2 separate regions of the Homo sapiens genome follow, and region 2 is linked to region 1. The links are contacts of gene promoters, found by promoter capture Hi-C in human tissues and cell types (Jung and others, 2019). All regions are on one chromosome and are shown on one strand. Each heading gives the region's core, a stretch centred on a gene start or on the middle of the fragment in contact. The rest is flanking DNA. Distances are from core to core; before and after follow the strand shown. Region 1 holds the start of SRD5A3 (steroid 5 alpha-reductase 3). Region 2 has its middle 17 kb from the start of LINC02283.

Evidence for each region. Contacts are between HindIII fragments. The study calls those that stand out against the background at their distance.
Region 2: a fragment that was not itself captured here is called in contact with the fragment with the promoter of SRD5A3 in region 1 in 1 of the 25 tissues and cell types used here (dorsolateral prefrontal cortex).

What each region holds. Positions count from the first base shown.
Region 1 is chr4:55,344,395-55,349,191 of GRCh38, reverse strand. SRD5A3 (steroid 5 alpha-reductase 3) reads right to left here and starts at 2,950. Exons shown (of 5, transcript NM_024592.5): 1 at 2,635-2,950. The coding sequence starts at 2,855. RefSeq lists silencers at 2,368-2,637, 2,848-3,017 and an enhancer at 2,469-3,229. The HindIII fragment of the contact is 5,833 bases long and covers 1-4,797 here.
Region 2 is chr4:54,313,384-54,318,093 of GRCh38, reverse strand. No RefSeq gene overlaps it. Among named protein-coding and RNA genes, the nearest start is that of LINC02283, 17 kb to the left of the region's middle. The HindIII fragment of the contact is 4,340 bases long and covers 286-4,625 here.

The DNA.
Region 1 (4,797 bases), core at 1,701-4,200:
ATGGTGGTGTGCACCTCTAGTCCCAGCTACTCAGGAGACTGAGGGAGGAGAATTGCTTGAACCCAGGAGGCAGAGGTTGCAGTGAGCTAAGACTGAGCCACTACGTTCCAGCCTGGGCGACAGAGCGAGACTCCATCTCAAAAAAACAAAACAAAAGAGTACTACTAGATTTTGCACAGGAAAAATATTCACATATAAGTATCAAGGTTAACGTTACCAAATGATTTTAAATTTGGATTAACCAAGATATTTACTAAATGCTACCATCTGGGATAAATCCATTCTCACTTAATCTTTCACACAGATTGAGCTTCACATGGTACAAGATATTTCCCACGAAGTATACCAGAGGATAAGAGCTTGGGATTTAAATTCCAACAGGCAGGGTTCAGGTACCACCCTTGCTAGTACTAGCATCACTGCACAACTGCTATCTTCTAAGCTTGAGTCTGCATGTGTGTAAATGGGAATAATGACAATAACATCTCCCTCACAGGTCCACTGTGAGGATTAAATGAGGAAAGGCACGTACTCCTTAGTAGTCATCACATAATCATATATGTAAACATTTAGTCAATGGTGGTTACTATTTATAAACCAGTAAAATCTCTCCCACATGCTCCTTAGCCATTAGCACATTTTTTTAAATGATAAAAGTGATAAGCATCTTGTGAATGAAGACATTTTGGAAAATACAGAGACGTATAAAAAAGAGGCCATAGACTCTTACCTCCACCCAACTCTAATTATCTGCCTATTTCATATAAACAGGGGTATAAAATTTAAAAAGAGAGTAATACATGTATTAATTTTTTGGAGACACTGCCAGTTTTGATGCAAGTTATCTTTTTTTTGTCACAATAAAAATGCCTTTCATTATTGGTCTGGATGTTTTGTACCTTCTCCAGTACTAAAAGAAATGTCTGTTTAAATTTAGAGAAGGAGGGGAAGGGCACTTGAACACTATGGGAGGTTCTACTGTAGAATTCTGGAAGAAGAAAAAGGTGTAAATTATTTCACAATAGAGTAGAAATTACAGGAAGTCCAAACAGAACCAACTGTTACAGTAATGAATAAGGAAAAGGTACCAAGTCTCTTTCTTGGCTGTCATGTAATAACAGACTTGAGTTGCAACAGCTGGGGTGTATGCAAGTTCAGGGGATGATTTTACATGTGCCATTTAATCCAGGTACACTAGACTAGTACCTTTCTCAAAACTCAGAAAATAAATTGCTGTGAAGTATAAAAGGATTCAACCCTGATTACAAATGGGATAACAGGTAATTTTTGCTTAAAAAGAGCCTCTAGGAAACAGGAGGTTTGATCAATTTGTTTCATGTACTTCTACTTCTTCCCTTTAGGGTGCCTCAGAATGACCTAGTTCTCCCTTCTCTGTGTTAACACATGACACATCTTTCTCTGACAGTCAAAATTCGCAGATTATCCAAGTTTTAGAAGCCAAATTATACTTGTCCCTTTGTTGCCTGCGGACCTGGGGCACTGCCTATGAGTGTTTCAAGCGACAACCCAGATGTTTTTAACCTTTAAAAAAAAATTTTTTTTAAATACAAGGTATTTCTCTGTTGCCCAGGCTAGAGTGCAGTGCCATGATTATAGCCCACTGCAGTCTCCAATGCCTGATCTCAGATGATCTTCCTGCCTTCATTCCAAGTAGCTGGCACTACAGGCACACGCCACCAAGCCCTGCCAATTTTTTGTATTTTCAGGAGAGACGGAGTCTCACTATATTTCCCAGCCTGGTCTCGAACTCCTGAACTCAAGCGATCCGCCTGCCTCAGCCTCCTAAAGTGCTGGGATTACAGGCGTGAGCCACTGCGCCCGGCCTAAGATGCATCTTAAGGGGCACTGTTCTATTTCTACCATCTCGAATAGTATTTGGCCAACTCTTTCCAGCTATGTCCTGAATTTAAAGTGGAAAAAGGAGAAGAAGAAAATTATAACAGGTCTCTATTTAAAACCTGACGATTTAATCCTTCGCTGAACTGGGTTACAGAATTTTTCGAAAGTCAAATGGAGCTTCGGGACGGGCCTGCCTATGACCTGCACCTTGGGCCACCTTCCCCAGGGGCACCTGCCAAGGTGCAGGTTAGGGCGACTCAGTCCTTTGTCCCCACTGCAAGGGTTGGGAAGAGAAACGGGGGAAGCCGAGGCCGAAGAGCCGGCCTAACTTCATTTCCACAAATGATTCCCGGTGACCTCAAGTTAGAGTATGAGCCACTGGAGTGCAGGGTACGGGAAAAAGGAGAATTTGGGGCAAGGGGCACTTCAATTTGCCGCCTAAATTCGCATGACCAGGCCTAAATTCGGATGCGTTGCCATTTCCCACAGGGAAAGGCTCCGTGCGGCTACCAGTTCACATTCCTCCAGCTGAGTGCAAGCGGCTCCGCTCTCCCTCGGCGTCCGCGGACACCCGGGCACTGCTCCCCGGAGCCACGCAGCAGCCGGGGCATGGCCGGGGCCAGGCCGAGGGAGCGCCGTGCTGCGCCCGGGAACCCGCCAGGGCCTCCCAGGCCGGGTCCCGCCTCTGCTGCCCCCTGCTGGCTGCCCGCGAGCCGGGGCGCCCCGAACTCTCAGCGCCTTGACCACCGCGGCTCGGGACCGGGGCGCGGTTACCTCTTGGGGACATCAAAGGCTCGGCAGGCGGCGGGGCGCGACGGCTCCCCACACTTGGTTTTCCCATAGCGGATCAGGTCCTGGAAGATCGCGCAGCCCGGGAGCAGGCCGGGCGGCAGGAGCTGCAGCAGTAGGGTCAGCAGGAAGGCGGCGGTCAGCGTGAGCCACACCGCGCGCAGCGGGTTCAGCGCCGAGTGCTCGGCCTCCGCCCAGGGAGCCATGGCCCGCGTGCCCGCCTTCCGCGCTGCTGGCGCCCCCACCGCCCGCTAGCCCGCGGAAGAGCGGCCACTAGCGCGCGGCGCACCGGTCTCAGCCTAGCGGGACGTCGGTGACGCGGCGCGGGGCGGGGACGCGCAGAGCCCCTCCCGGACTCGCCGCTCAGCCGCGGAGGTCCTTGGTCCTGGTCGCGCTGGCGCTGGGTGGTCGCTCGCAGTCCCTAATCTGGGCATGGGGATTCTTAGATGGAGCTCCAGAATATGATTCATCAGAAGCAAAGACGCAAAACAGACGAGACCACGTGTCTGCCACTCTTATCAACATTATCTCCAAAGCAAAAAATGGAAACCTTACATGTTGCATTTTAGTTTATTTAGCTAAATTATGATACACTGACATGTTAGAATATCATGCAGTCATTGAGAATTATTATGACGAGTGTAGAAACAGGGAAAGCTGTTTAGGAAACAATATGTGAAGTGAAAAACAAAACCAACCATAAAAATACATAGCTATGATTGCAAACAACTATATTAATATGAATGTGTGTATATATGGATAAAGAAGGCAGATCACACCCAAAAATGAATAATTATGTTAGGATGCTGGAAATGTGTTGGATATGTGTATAATGTAAACATGTAGACAAGTAATTGCACATAATAATAAAAATCATAGTGGTAAAAACTGTGTTTAAAAAACAGCAGTCGCTTACCAATAGGGTTCCAATCCTTAGAAGCAAAGTTTTTAAATTCCATCAGCTGTTTCCTGTAACATTTATCTCAGGTAGTGACAATGCTATTTATTGACTCACTGATTTTAAACAACACTGATTTTATTTACTATAAGTGAAAATCTAGCTCTTTTAAGTATTTAAAAGTCTTTAAAATGTTAATTCTGAAGTATTGTATGCCTACTGTATGACAGGCATCATTTTGGATACTGAGGACAGAGGGGTTTACAAGATAATTGTCACTGCTTATTTGGAGCTTACATTTTTGAGATTGGGTGGTGGGTGAGAAGTGGAAGAGGGGAGAGGTAGCCAACTCATCACCCTTACCCCAATGAGATACCCGATATGTGTGTTGAATAAACATCAGGGTGGGTAGGTTAGTGGGACTTTGGACTGTTAAATGAGCAAGCTTTTAAAGTTTTCTTCTTTGTGCAAAAGACACCTAAGGCTTTACCCGTCCTTTGACAGCCAGGTGATTAAGGATGGTTAAATTGGCATTCTAGCTAGGACAATGAGGCCTTATTGAGTGATCCTGGATCTCTTTTGCGGGAGTCACCCTTTCACTGTTTCTTTCTTTTCTTTTTTTTTTTTTTGAGATGGAGTCTCGCTTTGTCGCCCAGGCTGGAGTGCAGTGGCCTGATCTCTGCTCACTGCAAGCTCTGCCTCCCAGGTTCACACCATTCTCCTACCTCAGCCTCCCGAATAGCTGGGACTACAGGTGCCCCCCCAACCACGCCTGGCTTTTTTTTTTTTTTTTTTTTTGTATTTTTAGTGGAGATGGGGTTTCACTGTGTTAGCCAGGATGGTCTTGATCTCCTGACCTCGTGATCCATCTGCCTCGGCCTCCCAAAGTGCTGGGATTACAAGCATGAGCCAATGCTCCTGGCACCCCTTCACTGTTTCTTTATTTTTCTTAGGTTAACTCTCTGTAAATGCAGCTGGTCTGTCCATGATCTTTTTCTTTTCAGAGAAGCTACTTGTAAGTGCATTGCAGGGACTCAGTTTCCTGGGTAGGAGTTTCTCTTACAGTTGTCTGACCTGGGGCAAGATTGAAAACAAGATAAGTGTGTGTGTATGTGTGAGTGTGTGTGTAGTGGAAACAGGAAGGGTTGAGGAGGCTGGAGGGGAAAATCATCCCATATATTTTTTAGATTTTTTTTTTTGAGACCGAGTTTCACTCTTGTTGCCCGGGCTGGAGTGCAATGGCACGATCT
Region 2 (4,710 bases), core at 1,206-3,705, 1.0 Mb after region 1:
CAAATCACCTCCCCTATCAAACTCACACACCCAAGGGCTAGGCACCAGGTGACTAGAGAATGTCCCAATGCCCCAAAGCCTGCTAGAAGGATGTAGACTAGCCAGTCCTACACTGTTTACCCTGTCCCGCCTTGCCTTTCCTGCAGAAATCCCAGTCCAGGCTGTGGCCTATGCTTTCCCCTTCTGCCTCTTGACCTCTTATGCTTCCCCATGTGACCCTGTGTCACATGACATGCCTTCTCCTCTTGGGAAATGTAGTAAAAATCTTTCAATGGCATTAACTTCTGTGTGATACCACTCAATTCCTTTTATTTATCTTGTTTTTATAGACAAGGTCTCAATCTGTCACCTATGCTGAAATGCAGTCGTGCTATCACAGCTCACTGCAGCCTCAACCTCCTGGGCTCAAACGCTCCTCTTGCCTCAACCTTCTAAGTAGCTGGAAGTACAGGTGTGCACCAACACCAAGACTAGCTAATTTTTTTTTTTTTTTTTTTTTGTAGACACGGGGGTCTCACCAGCTCAGGCTGGTCTGGAACTCCTGACCTCAAGCGATCCTCCTGCCTCAGCCTCCCAAAGCATTGGGATTACAGGCTTGACCCACCATGCCCGGCCTCAATTTGCTTTAAAAATTAAGACATGAGCACAAATCACACCTCTTCCTTTGTAATTCTAGCTATGTTACTACCTTTGAATTTTCTTTTGCTCACCTAAAATATATGAGTAATAAAAAAAATTTATGTGATTGTCATGAGGCTTATTTAAAATATATGATAACAGGACGGGTGTGGTGGCTCATGCCTGTAATCTCAGCACTTTGGAAGGCCAAAATGAAAGGATCACTTAAGACCAGGAGTTTGAGACCAGCCTGGTCAACATGAAGAGACCCCCATCTCTTTTTTTTTTTTTTTTTGAGACAGAGTCTCACTCTGTCACCCAGGCTGGAGTGCAGTAGTATGATCTCGGCTCACTGCAACCTCCGTCTCCCAAATTCAAGCAATTCTTCTGCCTCAGCCTCCTGAGTAGCTGGGACTACAGGCGTGCACCACCATGCCCGACTAACTTTGGTATTTTTAGTAGAGATGGAGTTTCACCATAGTGGCCAGGCTGGCCTCAAACTCCTGTCCTAGTGATCCACCCGCCTTGGCCTCCCAAAGTGCTGGGATTACAGGTGTGAGCTGCCACACCCGGCCCCCATCTCTTAAAAAAAAAGAAAAGTTATAAAAGTCTTTGCACATTATAATCATGTTCATTATTATCACTAACTCTCAAGAATGTGATCTGCTAGTGCCTTTTTCCCAGCAAACTCAGCTTCTTACAGGCACAATATTGTCAATGAATTCATGTTCATGAAGCATCACCCCTGTCCAGATGCAGGGCATCCTATAACCCAGGTAAATTCACTGTGATCTGACCAAGCAACAGATATAGAGCTATGAGAAACAGGATTGGTTGGTCTTACCTAATGCATACAAAACTCTTCACTTAAAAGAGAAAAATTAGTAAAAAGGACTCCCCCTGTGTATTTTTTTAAATGTTATATTTATGATCATTCTAGCTAGAACTTTTCAGGAGTCCAACTATTCAGAACTTGACTATTAAGCCTTTGTTTAAACCCAATTGTTAGTTTATAAAAACTTCCCGCTAGACTCTCAATTATTGTTGTTCTAAACACAATGATTTGAGAACAAAAATGAAACAAAAGATGTTTTAGAAAGAAAAGAAAGGCAATACATGAAAAAAAGCAGACAGAAGGAAAATGGCCTTTTCCAGCAGCAAAATGCTGTTCTTGTTATTCCAAAACATAACAGTAATTCTACAGAGAGCCTCCCACAGTTTCAAGTTGCTAACAAAGAAAGGCTTGTCCAATACCAGTCAGAGAGTATCAGAACCAAGATGGTGACTCTCTTTAAAGGAACTCAGCATGAGAAAATTTCTAGATTTCCCATAGCATTTAATGCTAACTCCATGTGGTTCAGAGTGAGAACAGATTGCAGCAGGATCACAACCAGAATGAGGCATGTGAGATGCCTGAGGTGCAAAATTTAAGGAGGCACATGGACTCCCAACTCTGTTGAGTGTCCCTGGTCCCCACCCTATGGTACAGCTACAAGGATAAAGAATTTCCATTCTAACACCATTAACATAGAGGAGCTCTATCAAGTGGCTAGCCCTCAGCTGTAGCATAGTCTAAATACACACTATTGTATGCTGTACTCCACGCTGAAGCAGGCCTCTATGGATGGACTGGGTCCTTTGCCAAGTAGCTTTCATAGAAATCTAACGACAGTCCTGAATTTGAAGAGGAACTGAAACTAAACATTTGCTTATTCAGACCAGAAGTAGAACAAACTCTCAGCCTCAGTGAGGTACAAGTCAGTGTTTCTGAGAAATTCACAAGTTCTACAAAAACACCTTTTATGAAAGTAGCCACCACCCAAGATCACCCACGTACTTAATTCCAGTAGTGCTTGGGGTAAAAAATTTCCCTATATCTAGTTCTTCCTTTAGCCTCACTCACTCCAGGCTTGGACAGGTTGCCAGTAAAACTCTGGGTTTTTTTTTAAATCTGGGATACAATTATTCCCATAAGTCTGATGGCAAATGAGTGCATTCTGTGGAGTGTTTGGTTTTTCCAGATTCAAGAAAAGCTCTATTTAACTGCAAAGGGTGCTTTTCAGCTGTGTCCCTACTAAAAGCTTCCCATACAGTCACTCTCAAGACTGTTGTTCTTTTTTCACTAGAGACGGCCACAGTCATTATGTTGTAAGCATTCTGAGTTGATGCACATGGGAAGGAACTTCGGGGTCAACATTCAATCTGGCTTCAGGAGTTGCCAGATTTGAGTGTTGGTTTCTCAGTTAGTCTGCTGCCCCGAAGCTCCCCCATAAATCCTTCTGTGAATGGGTAATTTATTCAATCCTGCAACAAATATTTACTGAGCACTTACTCTGAACCAGCACTGTTCCAGGCACCAGGGATGTATCAGTGAACAAAACATGCAAATTCTGTCATCACATAGTTTACATTCTAGAAGGGGAGGCAGAAAATAACCAAAAGCACGTCAATAAACTATACAGTAAGTTAGAAGATTATACGTTGTAGGGGAAGAAAGAGAAAGTTGAGCAGGGTAGGTGGGATGGGATGTGCTGGGGATGGGGGCAGCATAGAGGTGGACATGGTGGGATGGTGCCGATGGCAAGGTTAAATAGGACTGTCAAAGTCGGCCTCTTGGAAAAGATGAAATTAAGGAGATACTTTAAGGAAGTGAGAGGATTATCCAAAGATAACTAGGGAAAGAGCATTCCATACAAAGGGAACAGCCAGTTCAAAGGCCATGACAGGGGTGTGTTCTTGTTGTGCTCTAGAAACTGCAATGAGGCCCGTGAGGTTGGAAGGAAGTGAACAAAGAGAACGGAAGAGAACTTTGAAGAGGTGACGAAGGCCAGATCGTGACAGGCCTTGATAAGTGTAAGACGAAAAGACATTGCACGGTTTTGAGCAGAAGAGTGATCATGACTTCATTTTAAAAGGATTCCTCTAGCTGCTGCTTTGAAAATAGTCTGTTGTGGGAGGGAAAACAGCAAAGTGGGGAGACTTTTGAGGAGCCTACTGCAGTCATACAGGTGAAAGGTCATGATGGCATGGCCCAGGGTGGCAGCACTAGAGAGAGTGAGAGCGGTCAGATTCTGAATAGATTTCAGGTATGCTTAAGGGAGAACCAGAATCTTGGCAGATTAGACACAGAACGTGAGAAAGAGGATTGCCAAGGATGACTCCAAGATTTGGGGCATGAGCAACTGGAAAATTAGAGTTGCCATCAACTGAGATGATGGACACTGATGGTGGATCAAGCTTGAGAGAAGGAAGAAGTTAAGTTTTTTGTTTTTTTGGTTTTTTTGTTTGTTTGTTTTTTGAGATGGGGTCTCGCTCTGTCACCCAGGCTGGAGTGCAATGGCACAATCTCGGCTCACTGCAACTTCCGCCTCCTGGATTCAAGAGATTCTCCTGCCTCAGCCTCCTGCGTAGCTGGGATTACAGGTGCGCACCATCATGCCCAGTTAATATTTGTATTTAGTAGAGATGAGGTTTCACCATGTTAGTCAGGCTGGTCTCAAACTCTTAACCTCATGGTCAGCCTGCCTCAGCCTCCCAAAGTGCTGGGATTACAGGTGTGAGTCATCGCATCTGGCTTGGAAGTTAAGTTTTTTGTTTGTTTTGTTTTGTTTTGAGACAGGGTCTCACTCTAGTCGCCCAGGCTGGAGTGCAGTGGCATGATCACAGCTCACTGCAGCCTCGACTTCCTGGGCTCAGGTGATTCTCCCACCTCAGTCCCCTGAGTAGCTGGGACTGCAGGCATGGGCCACTATGTCTTGCTAATTTTTTGCATTTTTAGTAGAGACAGGGTTCTGCCACATTGCCCAGGCTGGTCTCAAACTCCTGGGCTCAAGTGATGGAAATTGTTTTGAAGGTAAGAGATCAGCTACTTTATATCCTGGCATGCCTGCAGTCCCAGCTACTGGGAAACTGAAGTAGGATGATCTCTTGAGCACAGGATCTCTTTGAGTCCAGCCTGGGCAATGTAGTGAGACCCCATCTCTAAAACAGATATATATAGCTGATAGATAGATAGATAACAGATAGATAATAGATAGATAGATAGATAGATAGATAGATAGATAGATAGATAGATCAACTATTTGACATTCA